Regions from separate parts of the Homo sapiens genome. Here region 1 is linked to region 2. Evidence: promoter capture Hi-C in human tissues and cell types (Jung and others, 2019). All regions are on one chromosome and are shown on one strand. The core of a region is centred on a gene start or on the middle of the fragment in contact, and the rest is flanking DNA. Distances in the headings are between cores, read along the strand shown. Region 1 has its middle 43 kb from the start of KIAA0408. Region 2 holds the start of KIAA0408.

The links. Contacts are between HindIII fragments. The study calls those that stand out against the background at their distance.
Region 1: a contact is called between a fragment that was not itself captured here and the fragment with the promoter of KIAA0408 in region 2, in 7 of the 25 tissues and cell types used here (H1 embryonic stem cells, adrenal gland, bladder and 4 more).

What each region holds. Positions count from the first base shown.
Region 1 is chr6:127,413,949-127,419,324 of GRCh38, forward strand. It overlaps the pseudogene LOC100287856. Among named protein-coding and RNA genes, the nearest start is that of KIAA0408, 43 kb to the right of the region's middle. The HindIII fragment of the contact is 3,360 bases long and covers 838-4,197 here.
Region 2 is chr6:127,455,994-127,461,397 of GRCh38, forward strand. KIAA0408 reads right to left here and starts at 3,396. Exons shown (of 6, transcript NM_014702.5): 1 at 3,182-3,396. The region is part of intron 7 of SOGA3-KIAA0408 (SOGA3-KIAA0408 readthrough); the gene reads right to left. The HindIII fragment of the contact is 15,174 bases long and covers 1-5,404 here.

The DNA.
Region 1 (5,376 bases), core at 1,268-3,767, 43 kb before region 2:
CAAAGACATAATATCATTCCCTTTTTCCAAATTTCATTAGGTACCCACTGGGGTACTGAATAAAGTATATAACTTTATATTTACTATCCCAGCCTCATTGGAAGCCTCCCCTCCAGGCAAGATGGTCCACTCACTGTCTTCCAGATTTCAAGAGAGGCCTCAGGAATTCCCACTGCCATGCCTTTGCCAACAAACTTCTGCACTTGGCATGATCTATGCCCCTAGGCCGAGACAAATCCAGCATCTGTCAGGAATGCTCCCTTGGTATAGTCATGCTTCAATTCTGATCTTCTAGACATTTAATTTCTTGGAACATTCAAAATAATGAATTTGATACCAAGATCAAATTCCAAAAAATTAAATGTCTAGAAGATCAGAAGTGAAGGAGTGAAATCTTGAGCAAGTGCAGTTTTTTTTTTTTCTTTTGAGACAGAGTCTCGCTCTGTCACCCAGGCTGGAGCGCAATGGCATGATCTCGGCTCACTGCAACCTCTGCCTCCCAGGTTCAAGTGATTCTTCTGCCTCAGCCTCCTGAGTAGCTGGGATTACAGGCACCTGCCATCATGCCTGGCTAATTTTTGTATTTTTGTAGAGACAGGGTTTCACCATGTTGGCCAGGCTTGTCTTGAACTCCTTACCTCAGGTGATCTGCCCACCTTGGCCTTCCAAAGTTCTGGGATTACAGGTATGAGCCACCACAACTGGCTTGTGCAGTTTTCTTAAATACCAATTTAGTCATCCATTGAATTGTGACAAGAATGCCAAATTTGCAGAGCTGATGTGAATGTTAAACTTTGTAAACTCTAGAAAGTTATGGAAATATTAGGTGTATCATTATAATTCCTGTTCAATACCATGTATTATTTATATTACCTTATTTCTCCATCCATTATTCTAAAGTTTTTGAGAGTGCTGTATACTTCTTATAATTTGTTTCCCCAGTATGCTTGGCCAAGTGTCCTTTCTATTCTATATGAACAAAAATATTTGTCAATTGATGAACTAGATTTGAAACAGTGATGAAATGCTTTCAGATTATTTCATATTTGACATCTTATTCATTGGTTAGTAATATGTGAAGATAGGGCTTAATTATTTTTGTTGTTGTTAATTACAGATTTTAGGTAATTTAAAACATAACCATTGTTACAAGAGCTATATATTCTGTATATTAATTTAAAAAAATGTACAGTTCTCTTTTTCATCTGTCTGCTGTAAAATCAATACTGAATTGGATCAAATGCCAGCTCGTATGCACTTTCATCTTTGAAAGTTAGGACACAGCTTTGAGTCTCTCTGACCGCAGACCAACTTGTAATTTAACCTACCAGAGGCTGGGTGTGTATCAAAACACAGTGGCTTTACTCAGATCTTTTAAACAGCTACAAAAGTGAAAAAGCTGAGGATGGAGTGGAAAAAGAGAAAGGATACTTTGTTTTAGGGACCTGTTTTATTTATTTATTTTTTTGTATCCATTGATCACAGGACATCAGTGGCTGCTTCAGGGACTTGGGTTAGTAGTCTCCAGGGTTTACTTTACTCTGTATCTAGGGCAAACCTGACAGTCTGGAGTAGAGCAAGAAAAATATGTAATACAGTCAACTAGATTATTTAAAAAGCCACCTTTCTGTTATTCTTATGGGGTTGAGGAAATTGTTTCTCTATATGAGTATAAAATTTATCACCAATGTTCAAGGCTTTAAAGCAGAGTTGAAGGCAACCTGAGAATCACTCAGTATTCTTTCTTCCCTTACGTTTTATATCTGCTACTGAATTATTAGTGATGGCTCACTGTGCTTCCAGTGAGGGCAGAGGGTGTTGGGCTCCTCCTAAACAGGGAGAAAAAAGAACAACAAGGATATATATTTGTTTCATGCTGCCTACTGGTTTTGAATGTTTTAGGCTATTTAATTGGAAGAAGAAGGAATTGTTAAAGTTACTTTAAAACTCTACAATTGCTTGATTAACAAGGAGGAGAAAAACTATTGGATAAAACATACAGTTATTTAAATAAGGTTTAGCAATTCAGCAACATCTATCAAAATCTTTATTATTTTCATGTTTAAAAAATACTTTAGGCTGGGCGTAGTGGCTCAGGCCTGTAATCCCAGAACTTTGGGAGGCCGAGGCGGGTGGATCCCTTAAGGTTGGGAGTTCGAGACAAGCCTGACCAACATGGAGAAACCCCCTATATACTAAAAATACAAAAATTAGCTGGGCATGGTGGCACACGCCTGTAATCCCAGCTACTCAGGAGGCTGAGGCAGTATAATTGCTTGAACCCAGGAGGCAGAGGTTGCGGTGGGCTGAGATCGCATCATTGCACTCCAGCCTGGGAAACAAAAGCGAAACTCTGTCTCAAAATAAATAAATAAATAAATAAATAACCAACCAATGAACAAAACAAACAAAAAAACCAAAGCAAAACAAAAAAACTTTATACGGTAAAAAGACAGCAAAAATAGATTTTTGTTCAAAGAAGAAAAGATATACTGCCATTGTTGTGGTTCTGTAGATGATTTTAGTCTCTGGCTCCTCAACTGTGCACTGAAGTGTAGGTTGATTTCAACCATGGCTTCTCCAGCTTCAGTCATTTATCGAAGCTAAAACCATAGTTTAAAGATACGTGAAAAAACAGAGCAAGTGGAAATTAAGCTTGATTATGGTCTTTCATGTGTTACTTTTGCTATCCTTGATTGTGTATTTCTGTTGGATCAAACACTCCTATGTTACTGCTTGGCACCATAATGAATCAATATATATTCCAAGTGGCAAGAGGTAAGTTGAGAAGGAATATGAACCAATGCAACAAAATGCGCATAATACAGTGACAATAGTATGGCCAATCAATCTTGGAAATTACCCACTTGTTTAATTTTGAGCAACATGATCTAGCATTAATGTAATCACACTCTAAATCAGACAATGTAATTATGAAGACTGAGAGAAAAATGAGTCTGCAACTGAGGAGAAAGAAGACAAAGACCATGTCCTCTTCCTCTACCTATCAAAAGCTTTAAAATGTTTATTTACTCACACATCCTATTCCTGATAATGTTTCAAAAGAAAACAGTAGAAAAGGCTGGGCATTGTGGCTCACGCCTGTAATCCCAGCACTTTGGGAGGCTGAGGTGGGCGAACCACGAGGTCAGGAATTCAAGACCAGCCTGACCAGCATGATGAAACCCCGTCTCTACTAAAAATACAAAAACTGGCTGGGCGCGATGGCTCCCGCCTGTAATCCCAGCACTCTGGGAGGCTGAGGCAGGCGGATCAGGAGGTCAGGAGATCGAGACCATCCTGGCGAACACTGTGAAACCCCGTCTCTACTAAAAATACAAAAAAAAATTAGCCGGGTGTGGTGGCAGGTGCCTGTAGTCCCAACTACTCGGGAGGCTGAGGCAGGAGAATGGCATGAACCCTGCAGGGCGGAGCTTGCAGTGAGCGGAGATCGCGCTGTTGCATTCCAGCCTGGGCAACAGAGCAAGACTCCGTCTCAAAAAAAAAAAGCAAAAAAACCCAAAAATTAGCCGGGTGTGGTGGGATGCGCCTGTAGTCCCAGCTACTCGGGAGGCTGAGGCAGGAGAATCGCTTGAACCGGGGAGGTGGAGGATGCAGTGAGCCGAGACCGTGCCATTGCACTCCAAGCCTGGGTGACAGAGTGAGACTCTGTCTCAAAAAAAAAAAAAAAAAAAAGAAAAAGAAAATATGTTATTTACCAAGATGTCATCTATCATATAACATGAAATATAGCACAATCATTAAAATACTGCCATTAAAGTGATATTAAACTAATAACATGGGGTAATGTTAAGAAAAAAAGTGAGACATAAAATTTTGTATATGTTGTATGTTAAAAGCTAAAAAAACCAACATAATACATAAAATGTAAGAAAATATACAAAAATGCTAATCCAGATATAGGTAATATTGAATTTTCTCAACTTTTTTTGTAGGTTTTGTAAGGACAATTAAAATTTTAAAATAAGAAGCATAATTCTCCCTGCTGAAAATAAAAGATTTTCCTTCTCTTCTTTTTATCAGAGAATTTATTCTAGAAAGCTTCTAATTTTAAACATAATTATCCTCAGTATCTGTGAGCGATTGGTTCCAGGCTCCCCATGACCCCTGGGATACCAAAATCCAAAGACGCTCAAGTCTCTTCTATAAAATGGCATAGTATATGCATGTAACTTACACACATCCTCCTGAAGACTTTAAGGCATCTCTAGATTACTTATAATACCTAATACAATGTCTACATATCACTTCCTTTGCATGGACTGAATGTAGTACTTGGTATATGGCAAACTGAAGTTTTGCTTTTTGAAGCTTTGTGGAATGTTTTTTTTCCCCCCAAATATATTTGATCCATGGTTGATTGAATCCACAGATGCACACTCCTGGATACAGAGAGCCCACTGTACTCTCTTGGTTCATTAAAATGTGTATAAATCATTTTGAAGACTAGATAGGCCCTTTGTCAGCCCAGGAAGGTCTCTCTCAATAATCTAGGAACAATGCCATTGAAATGTACACAACGAGGGAGATAGCATCCTTAATCTCCCAGTTTCTGTGGGAGGACAGGAATCTAACTTCAGTGGAAGCCAGGCTCCAGAACTACCTTCTGTCATAAAAATACGAGAAGTTTGTTTTTCCCCGGACAAGGTCAATTAGCTAACAGGAACGATCTCCTCAATTTCCAGGTAAAGTTAGGATGAATGATGTTTGCAAATAGGGCTGTCATGTTGTCTTACCTGAGAAATTGTTATTTATCTTGAAAACACGTATGTAATGCGTTGTATCTGCTGGGCGATATAAGGGGGTATGATTACTTTCTGTTTTTGGAATCTCTTAATGGATTACCTGTGATGTACCTCACATTCTGGCTTAATGTTTATTCAATAATAAAAGTGCTTTCTTTACTACCTTTATGGAGAGAATTTCTGGGTTGGGAGAAGATTATCGTTCTAATTATATTTATAATCAAATAAGTTCACATTGATATAATGAGCTTTATTATGCTTACAATGGGAAATATACTTTATAATTATTGCCTTTTTTCCTATTTGATGATTTCTTTACCTTTTCGTTAGCAATAACTATCACCACTTTATTGGTTTATTCTACTCTAAGCTCTAAGCTCCCTTCCACTTCCAATTCTTTTGACTCACAGACTGTCTGTTCCAGTTTCTTCTCAGCTTCACAACATAGTTTTTAAGTCCGGGAAACACATCTGTACTATCTTGTACAACTAGGAACCCTGCTAGTGTCCCATGTAAGTCAACTGAAAGCCTTCCCTATTTTCTTTCTTTTTTTTGAGATGGAGTCTCGCAGTTGTCGCCCTAGCTGGAGTGCAATGGCGTGATCTTGGCT
Region 2 (5,404 bases), core at 2,146-4,645:
CGTCTAACAATTCTTCATAGGAAATGCAGACAGTGCCTGTCTTGAAACTAGCAGACTGCTTTAAAACTATACGTAATTAACTGTGTGGTGAAACTACCTTGCTGACTAGAAAGTATTTGCCACTGGAACTTCTTAGGAAGAATGGTGTGGTTTGAGATAATAAGAGATAAATGCAGATTTAACCAAAGAAACTAAAAAAGGATGCAGACTAATTTCAAGCTACCTGGAAAAGAGGAGCTATGATAAATCCATGTTTTATCCCAACTGTCTTTAAACATTGGAAATGTTCAGAAATCACCATAAAGTCTTTTCTACAATTATGTAGCAAATGGCTCCAATTTTTCCTTCTATTCCTAACTCTTCTTGAATCGCTTCCATGCTACTGTTGAAAGATGCCAGGCCTTTCTCTTTTTAACCTACCGGAAGATCATTCAGGAATACCCTAGATCAGTCTTGCTCTTGATAACAAGACTATATCTAAACCCAGGTAACAGTCCTGAAGCAGACCGAATCCTGCACCTATTTGCAAAGAGCCAAACTCATCCCTTAATATGGAGAAGGACCAATGTATGGAGCTTTTCCTTTCCAGGCCCAGAGCAATTGCTAGTGCCAAGAAATGTAATAGTTATGGATCAGAAACAAGCCTTTGCAAGAACATTTCTATAGAGCAATATCTGTGCCAATTTTTTGTGGAAGGATTTGGCCTTCTTAGCATCTCAGTCTTGTCGTAAATATAATGTTAGATGTAACGCAGCCAAACATATTGCTTCCACCTCTAAATATAAAGTGGTGGGGGGGGGGCATAGAATTGTTTTGGAGATTAAGTGAGCAAAAGGGAAAAATGCTTAAAAGAAGTGCCTAAACACTGCTCTGGATCATAGCAAATGCCTGAAAAATACTTGGTTCTTGTTTTCTTCCTTCTGTCCTTTGTTCCCTCCCTTCCTCTTCTTGTCTTTCCTCCCTCCTTCCCTTTCTCCTCTCTTTCTCCATCTATCCCTCTCCATGTTGTTCTCTGGAAAAAAAACAGATTATTTTGGTCTTTATTTTAAAACGAGATAGAAGCAAGTGTAATTGTGTGAACTCTCATATTCTCCATGATCTTCTTTTGCCTTTTTTCAAATATTTTAAAGATACATGTCACATATTTAAAGAAAAAAGTTTTATTGTTAATAAAAATGTGAACAAATCTTATGTAAAACTGCTTTTGTTATAAATCTGACTTAAATATTACAAAAAATATCAAACTGAAGGGGCAACTTTGTAGAGATAGAATGTTTCGTAATGAGAAGTTATGGGGTAAAGTGGTTCAGCAGATTCAAAAACTCAATTTAAGTGCTCTCTACTGGGGCAAAAATAAAAGTTCTTTTTGTTCCTAGTTGTCACTCATTTTCTCCCACAGATACTGGCATCTATGTGGGAGAGAAGGAAGGATTTCTGCTATCTGCATCCCCTACCCCATATCTCTTTGGCTCTCCAGTTTATGTTCTTCCTTCTAGAATTCCATTTCAGAATAAAAATTTATTAGAGCAAATGTAAGAGGACAGAGTGAGCTGCATTACTTAGTCACACACCCCAACTCTAAACCAGCATTGCATAATCCCTTTTAACTTACTTCCCCTTTCCAGGGCTGAAAGCCAGAATTATAAAGAGTTGTGAGTGGGTTGCATAAGTATGGTGATGGGAGGCAAATAGTTCTGCTAGCCTTCCGGCCCTACCAGTAAGCAAAGTTTAAGAGTAACACACAAGTCTCACAAGAAATTATTTTCACCCCCAAATTAGCCTCAGTTTGGTCATGGCAGCAATTCTTTCTCTGAGGGGTGCTCCATTCTTAGGACACCTGGGTCACTACCCTTTCAACCTCCAACTCGCCCATTGAAAACTGGACTGCATCCAAACAAACTAAACAGCGTTCCTTAGGGGCAGCTGCTCCATTGCTACTTCTCTCTTTTTAGATTATTGTTTAGAGTACTTGTTTCTTGCTGTCCTTATTTCCTTTTGCTAAACATATCACTTTTCACATAATTAAAGATTTTTCATTTATAAGAGGTTACATATTCCAATAGAAATGCCACACACAGTAGGTACTGCTAATCTCACAATTCCTAGAAGACTCATTTGGCCTGAAGATGTTTTGCTTCTGCTTAACTTTGATGGATTAGGAATTCCCCAGCTTATAACCTATCAGAGTAATGTACCATTTACCTCCTAAATTCTCTATCCCTTTCTCCAGGCTATTATAATCACTTGAATTATTTCAATGAATTAATAAATCTCATTCCTCTCTATTGTTCACTTGCAATTGAATCTTTCCAAAGACCACCATGATTTGATTTTGTTAGAGTAAAAGGGAAATTTTTTTCATTGCTGTGTATTGCTGATTTAGCACATTCCTCATGCTCCAACAAGGTCAAAGAGACACTACCACATGCAATTCCGAATGAATCAACTTTACCGTTTCATTTAATTATCTTCTTCCTTGTTTTCTTTACAGTTATTTACTCAAATTAGAAAACATCCAAGCTGTATGCACACTGATTTTACTTATAAAATGCAAACTTTAAAAGCAAACATTTGGTTTGAGTAAACAAATGTCTAAAACTAACCATCGTGAACAAAAGACATAGTGGTAAGTTTCCCTCCTAAACGTAGATTATTCAATTATGAATGGCATAGACTTCAGCTCAAATTACAGAAACACTAACTCTACAGTGAGTCCACCACCACCTTAGATAAAACTAAAATTTATTTTTCACCGCAATTTTCAAATACCAAGTCTCCAGGATTGTGACCTTTAATTTGCAAATGTTAAAAGTCTTTATATGAATAAAAAAAATCACATTTGAATAAATATACTTAGTGAAAATCAATGATGGGCAAAGTGCTTTTCAAACAACTGAGAAGCAGTGTTGGAAAAACAGTCTCAAAGAGCGGATGGTACTGTCAGTCCACAGTTGGGAAATCCACCCTGAGCAGCTGAACAGCCTTTTTCCTAGGAGTCAGTACAATCTGTTATGCACCCCGCCCACTGTTTTTAAGCCCAGACACAGACAACAGCAGAGACAGATGTTGAAATTACACTCCACTTAAACAGTATCCATAGTTTAAAACATCTCAACAGCAGCCCCTTTGTATCCTGCCATAATTAGTCACTTGCTTGTAAACTTGCCGGAAAGAAACATACCTTTCACACTGGGGAGAAATCCTATGGATGCTCGACCACTGGTCAATTAGCAGTGGAAGAAAGTGGATGGCTAGCTGTCTTAAAGAGAAAAGTCTCAGCTCGGTGAATCTCGATTCTTTACAAGAAAAGGGGATGCAAAATAAGTCCAACCATTCCACAGAGCAGTACTGACAAGTCCCTTTGAAACCTTCACCACTTTTACAAGTCAAAAAGCTGCTCAGCTTAGTGTCACAGCAGCAGCTGAGACTACTGTGACGTCAGTTACTTGGAGGCGGCCTTCAAGCCACCTCTTCCAACCAGAGCTCTGTAACTTTAGAGCAGCTCATGCTCTGGGTAAACAACTCCAGGTCCAGGACATTTTTAGCTTTTATAATGGAGCCCAGTATTTTCAAACTTGCCAAAAGAGCTGGTTGTTAACATCATACAATGACAATGGCCAATTTTAGATTTATTTTATTAGGAAAGTAAACTCATTTTTTTATAGGCAAGAATTATCTCCCTCCTTCCATAATTCTTTCTCCTTCTCAGCTGGTGGCAGGATGTACTCTGCTGCACCTTTAGAAGTTTGCATCTGGATGTGGCAGAACAATATGTGTAGCATAATTATATATATTATGCACTCTCAAAAGATCTGTGAAAGTTATCAAACTTCTATCTTCAAATAAAATAGAAATGGAACATAAAGTCCAACCTCTTAGCTCTCTGTGATTCTGACAGTGTGTTGCTTTTATCTACAGTAGTAGCGATGTCTTTACGTTAGAGAAAATCAGAGCCCATGGGAAAGGATGAGATTTCTTATTGTGGGAGGACAAAACACACACACACACACACCCCAAAAATGAGATACCTATGGGCTTATTTTCCACTAAAGTGTGCTGCAGCCATAGGAAGAGAAAGCAGCCTAAGTGTATGGAAAAGCTCTCTAAATCATGATCAAATCAGCCTGTTCTGAAATGCTAGGAGATCTTGCCTCCCCAGCGACATTTTCAGGTTTATTGTGGCTTTGTACACACATGCATCTGATGATATTTGGTTTAATTTAGTCAAAAAAGTCTCTAGAGCAATTTTTTGCCTAACTTAGCAAATACACAAGTTTAAACAATAAGGTCTTATCTTCAAGTCTGAAGAGCTTCCCTGGTGTGGTCTTTAAAGTAATACATATTCACTCACATTATTTTCACCTGCTTCCAGATAAACATTTCATGAGGAGCTAAAGTTTAGTAATAGTAACCTGCTCACAGTAGGACTTTAATACATGTAGGACAATCAAATGAAACCATACTCTGTGTCTGGAAAGCCTGACATCATAATCTCAACAGCAATAACAACAATAACAGTGATAGTTATAGTAATAATAGTGATTATTCACTGAGGGGCAACCCTCTGCAAGGTTCTGTGCTAAGTACTTTGAACAGACCTTTATCTGAGTTCACCCTCAGAGCAATTCTGTCTCTAGATACTGATAATCTGATCTTACTGATAAAACCCAAGCAAGGCTCATTGTGGTAAAGCATCATGCAAAAGTTCATAGAAATGCACCCATGTGGAGGAAACGGGTTTGAACTGTTTTGTCTGATTGCAAACCATGGAATTTTGTCATAGAGATCTAAGTTTCAATTCTGCTGCCACCACTTATCTGTGTGATCTTGCAGACCCTGATTCTTCCTTAAAGACATAATTATATTTACTTTAAGAGGCCATAAGAATATGAGGGAATATATATAGCGCCAAGCACACAATAAAGGGTAGCTCATGTCTGCCTCCATGCTTATGAGGCTAGGAAGAAGATTCTTTGAGAGAGGGAAAGGGAGGAGGGAGTTGCACAAAAACATCAATACAGAATTGTCTTAACATTGTTTCTGGCCGGGTGTGGTTGCTCACACCTGTAATCCCAGCACTTCTGGAGGCGGAGGCAGGTGGATCACATGGGGTCAGGAGTTCGAGACAAGCCTGGCCAACATGGTGAAACCCTGTGTCTACTAAAAATAAAAAAATTAGCCGGCTGTGGTGGCTCAGGCCTGTAATCCCAGCTACTAGGGAGGCTGAGGCAGGAGAATTGCTTGAACCCGGGAGGCAGAGGTTGTAGTAAGCAGAGATGGCATTCCTGCACTCCAGCCTGGTTGACAGAGCAAGACTCTGTCTCAGAGAAACAAAACAAAAAACATTGTTTCCTTTACCTTTTCTTCTACTCCAAACTTCTTAACTTCTATGTATCACTTGTAA